Regions from separate parts of the Homo sapiens genome. Here all the other regions are linked to region 1. Evidence: promoter capture Hi-C in 16 types of primary human blood cells and fetal thymus (Javierre and others, 2016). All regions are on one chromosome and are shown on one strand. Each heading gives the region's core, a stretch centred on a gene start or on the middle of the fragment in contact. The rest is flanking DNA. Distances are from core to core; before and after follow the strand shown. Region 1 holds the start of DLD (dihydrolipoamide dehydrogenase). Region 2 overlaps COG5 (component of oligomeric golgi complex 5). Region 3 overlaps HBP1 (HMG-box transcription factor 1).

Region 1 (2,700 bases), core at 118-2,617:
TGGAAAGGATGGAAGTGTTTCATTTTTTAAAAATAAAAATATGATATTGTAATTTTGGACAAAGGAGTAGGGAACAAAGCCCAAGAAAGTTCAGGAAAGAATTGTGAGATTTTGTGCATATGGAGCAGTAACTCCTAGACCAGATGTCAAAGACTGCCATGAAGCTGGAGAGGAGACAATTCTCCCCATCTGTGTGGTGGAGGCTGCTCAATGTCCCCCAATTTCGCTTCATCTCATCTTGCTTATTAATACAATTTCAGTTAGGCACTCAGCTGACAGGACTATGTTTCACAGATCCCCTTGCAGCTAGGTGTGGCTTTGTAATCAGATGGAATGAGGGGATATGATTGTAGAAACTGGAGCAGCCATCTTGAATGAAAGATGCAAGGCAAGCTCTGATGATGGCAGAGTCACGAGATAAAAGGAGCCTGGGACCCTGTCACAGGACAGAGCTGCCAGCAATACCGTCTCTATAACAAACACTAAATTTAATTATTCATATCTAAATCTGAACATAGGCAGTAATTTCTAACCAGTGTTTAGCCCAGCACAAGGCCTGGGTGGTAGACTTCCAATAAATGTAGAATTAAGTTTATTCACACTATATAGACTTATTGCAAGGCAAGAATGAGACCTTAGACTTTCGTGCTCAATCTTGAAGACAATGTTTTTCAACCCTTTTCAACAGATTCTCTCTCAAAACCTAAAATCTCATCCACCATCCCACTCTCTTTTTACCAGGGAGATGTGTTTCTCAACTAAAGAAATAGAAGAAAGTGTGTTCTCTACGTATTGTCAGTTAGCTAATTAGAGCAGAATGCTGGTGATGCCAAAATCTGTAGCCCCATCCCTTATATGGCATTTGAGAGGAGCGAGTATAAAGCAGTAGATAATACCAAAGGTTTTGGCCTCAGGGCCGCAGTTATCTCTCCTTTGTGAGACCTTGGGGGCACTGTTTAACCTCTCTGGGTCTCATCCAAGAAATGGAAATACTAATAATACTCCATATGGTTGTTGCAAGGATGAAATGAGATGTCTGTAGGAAGTGCCGAGGAATGCCTAGCACAACCAAGAGCTTGTTGAACTTGTCACGCTTTACTGTCGATAATGTGCATTAAGCAAACGCTAGTTTTATTTGTTTATTTCATCTTCTAAGTATAAGAATACATTGTAGCTCGACATTTTGGCACCAGCCCCTAAAGCATTCCCACCACCACCCCCGCTGCGACAAAGCCCTGCGCTCCTTACGACAGCGTACGACGCCGAGCCTGACAGGAACGCCTCGTGCGGTAGAACCGCGCGGGCCAATCGCGCTGCTCCCGGGTGATGACGTAGGCTGCGCCTGTGCATGCGCAGGGAGGGGAGACCTTGGCGGAGCGGCGGAGGCGCCCAGCGGAGGTGAAAGTATTGGCGGAAAGGAAAATACAGCGGAAAAATGCAGAGCTGGAGTCGTGTGTACTGCTCCTTGGCCAAGGTGAGGGCCGAGTAGGTGAGGTCGTGTTGAGCCAGAGGCACGGAAGGTCCCGCTCAGTGGGTCCGGTACGCGGCTTAACCGTGTTGGGCTGGCGGAGGCGGGCGCCTGGGCCGCACCACCCCTGGCCCCGCCTCTGCACTGGCTCAGCCCGGCCCTGGGCTCCGAGGTGGCCGCTCATCCTGCAGCAGGCGAGGGACGGGGCTGGGCCCAGGCTGTGGCGAGTCCTTTCGGGTTGTGTGACGGCCGGCGGTCACACATGCCACACCCCCAAGCCTGGGCCGAGGGCCATCCCGGTCACACATAGGCCTCTACCTTGGAGGAAGTGTAAGCCACCCATGTCCCGTATAGTCTGGCTTTTTATACCATTTGCCTTTTTCTCATCCTAATTCTGATCCCTGAGTGGCCTAAGTTTATGCAGTGGGCAGGTAACCCTGGGGTCACTTCTTGAATGGTTTAGATCCAGTCAGCTCCAACAGATAGCCCTCGGAATTCCCCTAAGGTCTTGTCAGTGTTGGCAGCTTTCAACTGGTGTTCATTGCCATCTCTCACGACTTCCTGGAGGCTTAAATCTTTAATTGCAGCAGGTTATCAGAACAACTCTCCTTTTTAATCTGCTTACCAGATACAGCCAAATTGTGTGTATGTGGCACCGTGGCTGGGTACTATGTTAGTGGAGACCTTAAAAATAATATAGCGATCAAACCCTTTTGTTTCAGAGATGAGGAACCTGAGTTCTCAAAAGTTAATGTAACATTCTGCAAGTCATGCTTTTAGGGAGCGGCGGAGGTGGGACTGAAACTCAGGATTGTCAATCTGCTGCTTTTTGGGTTTGCTGTCCTGACCTCAAATGTTAAGAGTTGCCTTGGAATAGGAAACATCAGTGTAGGTTTTGTCACTGCCGCCCATTTTCCTGCTGTGAGCAGGGGTTATTTGCTTGCTTGCTTTCTGCCTCATTGCCCTTAGGAAATGGTAGCCGTCCACATATAGAGATTAGGGAGATTATGATGCAATTTGTCAAACTGTAGTAGCACCAGAACGTAAGTACATTACTTGGTGCATTTTCCTAAGTTACCTTGTCTAATTTGCTATTCCTAGTTGATGTCTCAGGAACATCTTCATAGATTGTTCTAAGTAAATACGGACTGTATATACACGCTAGCTTAGAGTTAGGAAACAAAAATTACAGGTAAAAAGATTATCATGTATAGATTATTCAAGTATTTAAG
Region 2 (2,718 bases), core at 57-2,556, 680 kb before region 1:
CGCCTTCCCTTATTTCAACAAAGGGCACCATCAACTTAAGGTCTCTTAGTTCTTTTCCCCTCCTACACCGAAACAATTACCAAATCCTATTAATTTGCTACACACATTTCCACATCCAGTCCCTCCTCTCCCCTTCGCTTCACTTTGAACCCTTGCTATCTTGTGCCCTAATGATTGCTGTAGCCTCTTAAGGTGGTGAGCATCCTACTGCTGTTTCTCCCCTGTTCTGGTCAGTCTTCCATATTATAGCAAGAGATTTCCCCTGAAGTATTACAGCACTTGCCGTGCCCTGTTCTTTATAGGAAATCTGGAAAGGTCTGACTTCTGTATCAACAGCCTTGACTTAGCAGGATCCAGCATTGTGGAATTCCTGAAGGCTGGTTCCATGCTCTGGTCAGTGCCTAGACTCAACCCAACTGAATACCAGCTTCATCATCAAGCTGCTCCCAGCCCTTTCTGTGCTACTGCTGGGTTTTAGATAGCTTGATGTGGCCTAAAAAGACCCTCAAATCATTAGTTTCCATTTTTGTGTTACCAAGTAATGTGCAAAGCATATTTGCCCCATTTGTATGGCCCAACCTGGCTGCCCACCTAGGGAAAGATCAAGGGTGTTTGTTCATACATTGCTATGAAATAAAGCTGTCTCTGCCTAACAAAGTAGGGGGTGCCAAAGGGCCTGTTTATCTTTGGCCATACTGAATGTTTCAGTTAAAGAGCCACATTCTCTTAGCCCTTTGCACATTATCTTCCTTATCCTTAGAATACCCTTCCTTGCTTACTTTCTTGCGCAGCTCTTTATCTCTTAGGACTCGGCTTCAATGCTCCCTTTTAAGGAAAGCCTTTCTTAACTCCAGGCAGCAGGAAAGAATGGAAACCATCTTGGAGTCACACAGGTTTGTGAAACGATCTCACCTCTGTATCAACAGCCTTGACTTAGTAGGATCCGGCACTTTGGAATCCCTGAAGGCTGGCTCCATGCTCTGGTCAGGGCAGGAGTACTTTAAATCAGGTATGCAGGGGGATGGGCAAGCCCTTACTGAAGAAGTGTAGCTGTTTTTTTTTTTTTTTTATTTTTTTGAGACGGAGTCTTGCTCTGTCGCCCAGGCTGGAGTGCAGTGCCGCAATCTTGGCTCACTGCAAGCTCCGCCTCCTGGGTTCACGCCATTCTCCTGCCTCAGCCTCCCGAGTAGCTGGGACTACAGGCGCCCGCCATTGCACCCGGCTAATTTTTTTGTATTTTTAGTAGAGACGGGGTTTCACCGTGTTGGCCAGGATGGTCTCGATCTCTTGACCTCGTGATCCGCCCACCTGGGCTTCCCAAAGTGCTGGGATTACAGGCGTGAGCCAGAAGAAGTGTAGCTGTTTTAAATAACATGTAAGTTCATACCATTACTCAGCTCACATACCCAGTTTCAAGTCCCAGCTAACATACCACTCTCAACTGGCATGCAAGATGGAATTTAGTGCTCTTAGAGAACAATGTTTTGTGAGATGCCTTAGTTAAACCAGAGCTGACCCTGAATGGAGATATTTTTCTATGAAAAAAACTTGCTTCTTTTGGTAATATGCTTCTAGTTGGTATGCCATCCTGGGAAATTGTCTCCACTCCCCAAATGTAGTCCCTACAGAATCATATACAGTAAAGAAATCCCCAAGGGCTCATCTGTCTTTAAGACACCAAGGTGTATGTATCAGCGTATAAGAAGTGTTTAAATTCACAGGAACTACAATCATTTCATAGTGAATGGATTAGATATATTTGATGGACAAAAATCAACTTAGTTTCGTTGGCATTTAAAAGGATAAGACATCACGTAAGTTACACAACATGTAGAAGAGATCAGAAATGAGTTTGGTTAGATTTTTGGGTAGTCATCAAAAACACCATCAGAAGTATGGGGCAAAAAAGATTAAGCTGCCCTCCCACATGAAATTAGAGCAAGATTTTCGAGTACTTATTAAATTACTTCATTTGCTTAAGCAAAACATTAGCTTTCTTGGAAGTCAGGCCAAGTGTTATGTAACAGTTAGTCTTAACTCTGGTTTGTAACCAAAATAAGTAGATTATTGAGGTTATCCTTATTGAGAAAAAAAACACGATTAGTAGAGGAATGGTTTGTGGTAACATGGCAACACTGCTCAACATGACAAAAACTAGCCAAGTGGAAGTTTTCATGGAAAACAACATTGATTTTTGTCAGGCATTTAAATATTCAATGTGATTAGTAAGTACTGAAATGCATAAATGACTTAAAGATACACTACATGCCTCAATAAGCAGTTAAGCCCAGGCTTTTCCCTGGTTCCATCCTCCCTCTTCGTCCTATTTCAGACACTCCATTCACAGAACTGATAGGTAGCTAGTGACATGGTACCAGGAGGAGAAACATTTCCCTCCATCGATGGAGATCTTGGGAGTTCTGCAGAAGTACAGAGGAGCTGAGGGAATGGCTTCCAGATTGTGGACCCTGGACCATGGCAAGAGGGCAAGGGATCCAAGGATGCACATGGCACCAAGCATTCTCTGATGGTGTAGATAAAAGTACCACTAGGCTAATAAGGTCTGTGAACATTTGTGTACTCCTACTCAAAGAGGGCCATAAGAAGAAGAGTTGCTCTCCACGGCAAATATCCAGAGTAAATGGATTTGAGGCCAACCCCACCGCTGTTACAGAGCTTGAGAAATCTTTCCATCAAAGACTCTATCTTTATTGAAAA
Region 3 (2,700 bases), core at 46-2,545, 700 kb before region 1:
CCAGCCTTCCCTCATCACCATTGGAAGGAGGAAACACCAGTAAGACACGAAAGGGTAAGTTTATTTATGAGGTTAAACTTTTACAAAGTTTGTACAACAGTTGAAGTACATTAACATTCCTCATAGGAAGTAGTCTCACTGTTCTGTTAGTGATCTGGATTTGATTTTATATACAGCTCTGCTATGTGTTAGGAAAGCTTATTATTAATGGGAATGTGCGTATAACTAAAGCTTCCAAAAACTTTGTTTTGTGTGTGTCTTTTTTTTCTTTTTTTTTCTTTTTTTTTTTTTTTTAGCAAATTCTCCCACAGCCTGACAACCCTCAGTTTTTGAAGGCATTATATTTTCCCTAAGGTTAGAATTACTAAGTTATCCACCTATAAGCATGGGCCTAAAGACGTGGGATGAAAACAGATATTAAAAGGTATATTTTAAAAACAAATAAAAAAGTTGATAATATTTTTCTCCATAGGCAAATAGTGAGTCAGAATCTGGCATTTTCTGCATGTCCTCCCTGTCAGATGATGATGATTTGGGATGGTGCAATTCCTGGCCTTCAACTGTCTGGCACTGTTTTTTGAAAGGTAAAACAAACAAACAAACAAAAACCTTGAATTTTCCACAGCTTACTTGTCTAGTACAGTCACGTGTCTAATACGTGTTTTCTACCTAAACCTTAGGCACACGACTGTGCTTTCATAAGGGAAGCAATAAGGAATGGCAAGATGTTGAAGATTTTGCTAGAGCTGAAGGCTGTGATAATGAGGAAGATCTTCAAATGGGCATTCACAAGGTTGATTTAAAATTCTTAAAAAATTTTTCAAAATCTTTCCAAATGAAACAAGATTTATTGTTAATCTACAGAAATATCCTCCATTCACTTTGATATTTAAATGACATCGTACATTTTAGGTAGAGCATTTTTATGACCACTCATTGCTTAGTCTGATGGGGAGGAGCAATGATTTTAGGTTTGCCTTTCTAACATGCTTTCTTGGATGGGAAATAGTATATTTCTTGGTGCTTCTTCGTGTTTTATACACTTTACAATGGGGAAAACTGGTATTAAAAATATGTAATGAGGTCGGGCGCAGTGGCTCATGCCTGTAATCCCAGCACTTTGGGAGGCTGAGGCGGGTGGATCACGAGGTCAGGAGATCGCGACCATCCTGGCTAACGCGGTGAAACCCCACCTCTACTAAAAATACAAAAAAATTAGCTGGGCGTGGTGGTGGGCGCCTGTAGTCCCAACTACTTGGGAGGCTGAGGCAGGAGAATGGTGTGAACCCAGGAGGCAGAGCTTGCAGTGAGCCAAGATTGCGCCACTGCACTCTAGCCTGGCAACACAGTGAGACTCTGTCTCAAAAAATATATATATATTTATATGTAATGAATAAATAAACTAACCAAAGCCTTGCCTTAGGTAATCTACAAAGTGATTAATTCCCCTGTAGATTATTGAAAGCCAATTATATTAAGTTACTTTATATAAGTTGTTTCATATTAAGTTACTAAAACTAGCATTTTCTAAGTCGATGAGCAAAAGCAGTAGCGAGCAATATTAGGATAAAGTTGACACCTTTCACTTTGAAATTTTTAATTTCTCCATCTCTCCTGTAGGCAAGAAAATGGGCATGTGAAGTGTGCTTGTACAAATTCTTGTTTTGATCCTGCTATGTCTCACTATTAAGTCTCTTGAGAAAAATTGTCCTGTCTTGGCTGCCTTCAGTTTCGTCCCCTTGCTTTACTCTTCACTTTAGTGAAGTTCACAATAGTCTAACTTTGGCCTCTACTACTCTACAAAAATTGTCTCAAAGGTTACTAGCTTTATTCTGATTTCTAGGAAGAGAGACGTCGTTTGTTCTGTTTGACATCTGTACAACATTTGACACATTGGGTTAGTTCCTGACATTGTCTTCCCTTGATTTGTGTAGCATGGCAGCATCCTGATTCTCAGTCTTTTAGGCCTGGTACTTGACTGCCCGCAGTGCTGAATATTAGACAAGATTTTGCCCCCTTCACTTTCTTCACCAGTTCCTCTCTCCTGATAATGTCAGCAGCACCTCCATCATGTCCTGTGGAATGCACTCTGGACTTGGAGTCAGGAAACCTGGGCTCTCTTTATAGCTTCTCCAGCAATTATCTGTGTTACTGATCTTAGGCAGATTGTTAACCCCTCTGAGTATTGGCTTCCTGATCTGAAAAATGGGATTGGATTAGTTTTAAGGTCTCCTGCAGCCCTGAGAATGGGAAGATTTTGTAATTTCGTTATTTGCCAATCTATGTCTATAGCCTTCACCTGCACATTTCCAGCTGCATGTTAGACATCTCTGCATGAATATCAGTCAGTTCTTTGAACTAAGCTTAGTGTGACCAAAACTGCCCTTACCTTTTTCTTCCTCTTCTTGGCTTACTTTCCTCCTATTCTTTCAAAGTTGTTATTATCATCCTTCTTGATTACCAGATTCAAAACCATGAAGTTGTCTTTTACTATTCTATTTCTTCCCTTTATTTATATTCATTTGATTCTAATTCTGTAAAGATTTTTAAGTCATCCTCTCTTATTCATGACCTTGTTCATGCGTTAGCGTAATTATGATTGGATACTATAGCAAGCTTTTGGCGTGTTTGTCTCCTTTGTTTTTCTGTGAATGTAAGGGTAAGGATCATGTTTGTTAGTGTTTGTATTTTCAGATCCTA

The links. The method cuts DNA at HindIII sites, captures the fragments that hold promoters and counts their contacts. A CHiCAGO score of 5 or more calls a contact.
Region 2: a fragment that was not itself captured here is called in contact with the fragment with the promoter of DLD in region 1 in 1 of 17 cell types (non-activated CD4 T cells); the score reaches 7.4 in non-activated CD4 T cells.
Region 3: a contact is called between a fragment that was not itself captured here and the fragment with the promoter of DLD in region 1, in 2 of 17 cell types (non-activated CD4 T cells and total CD4 T cells). The highest score is 6.0, in non-activated CD4 T cells.

Annotation. Positions count from the first base shown.
Region 1 is chr7:107,889,816-107,892,515 of GRCh38, forward strand. It overlaps DLD (dihydrolipoamide dehydrogenase), which reads left to right and starts at 1,368. Exons shown (of 14, transcript NM_000108.5): 1 at 1,368-1,474. The coding sequence starts at 1,436. RefSeq lists enhancers at 1,069-1,148, 1,106-1,788, 1,299-1,538 and a silencer at 1,599-1,708. The HindIII fragment of the contact is 5,175 bases long and covers 1-2,700 here.
Region 2 is chr7:107,204,902-107,207,619 of GRCh38, forward strand. The region is part of intron 21 of COG5 (component of oligomeric golgi complex 5); the gene reads right to left. LOC124901720 (a long non-coding RNA gene) reads left to right here. Exons shown (of 2, transcript XR_007060471.1): 2 at 792-2,718. Among named protein-coding and RNA genes, the nearest start is that of HBP1, 37 kb to the left of the region's middle. The HindIII fragment of the contact is 5,186 bases long and covers 1-2,718 here.
Region 3 is chr7:107,185,889-107,188,588 of GRCh38, forward strand. It overlaps HBP1 (HMG-box transcription factor 1), which reads left to right. Exons shown (of 11, transcript NM_012257.4): 4 at 1-54; 5 at 473-584; 6 at 681-793. Among named protein-coding and RNA genes, the nearest start is that of HBP1, 18 kb to the left of the region's middle. The HindIII fragment of the contact is 2,132 bases long and covers 230-2,361 here.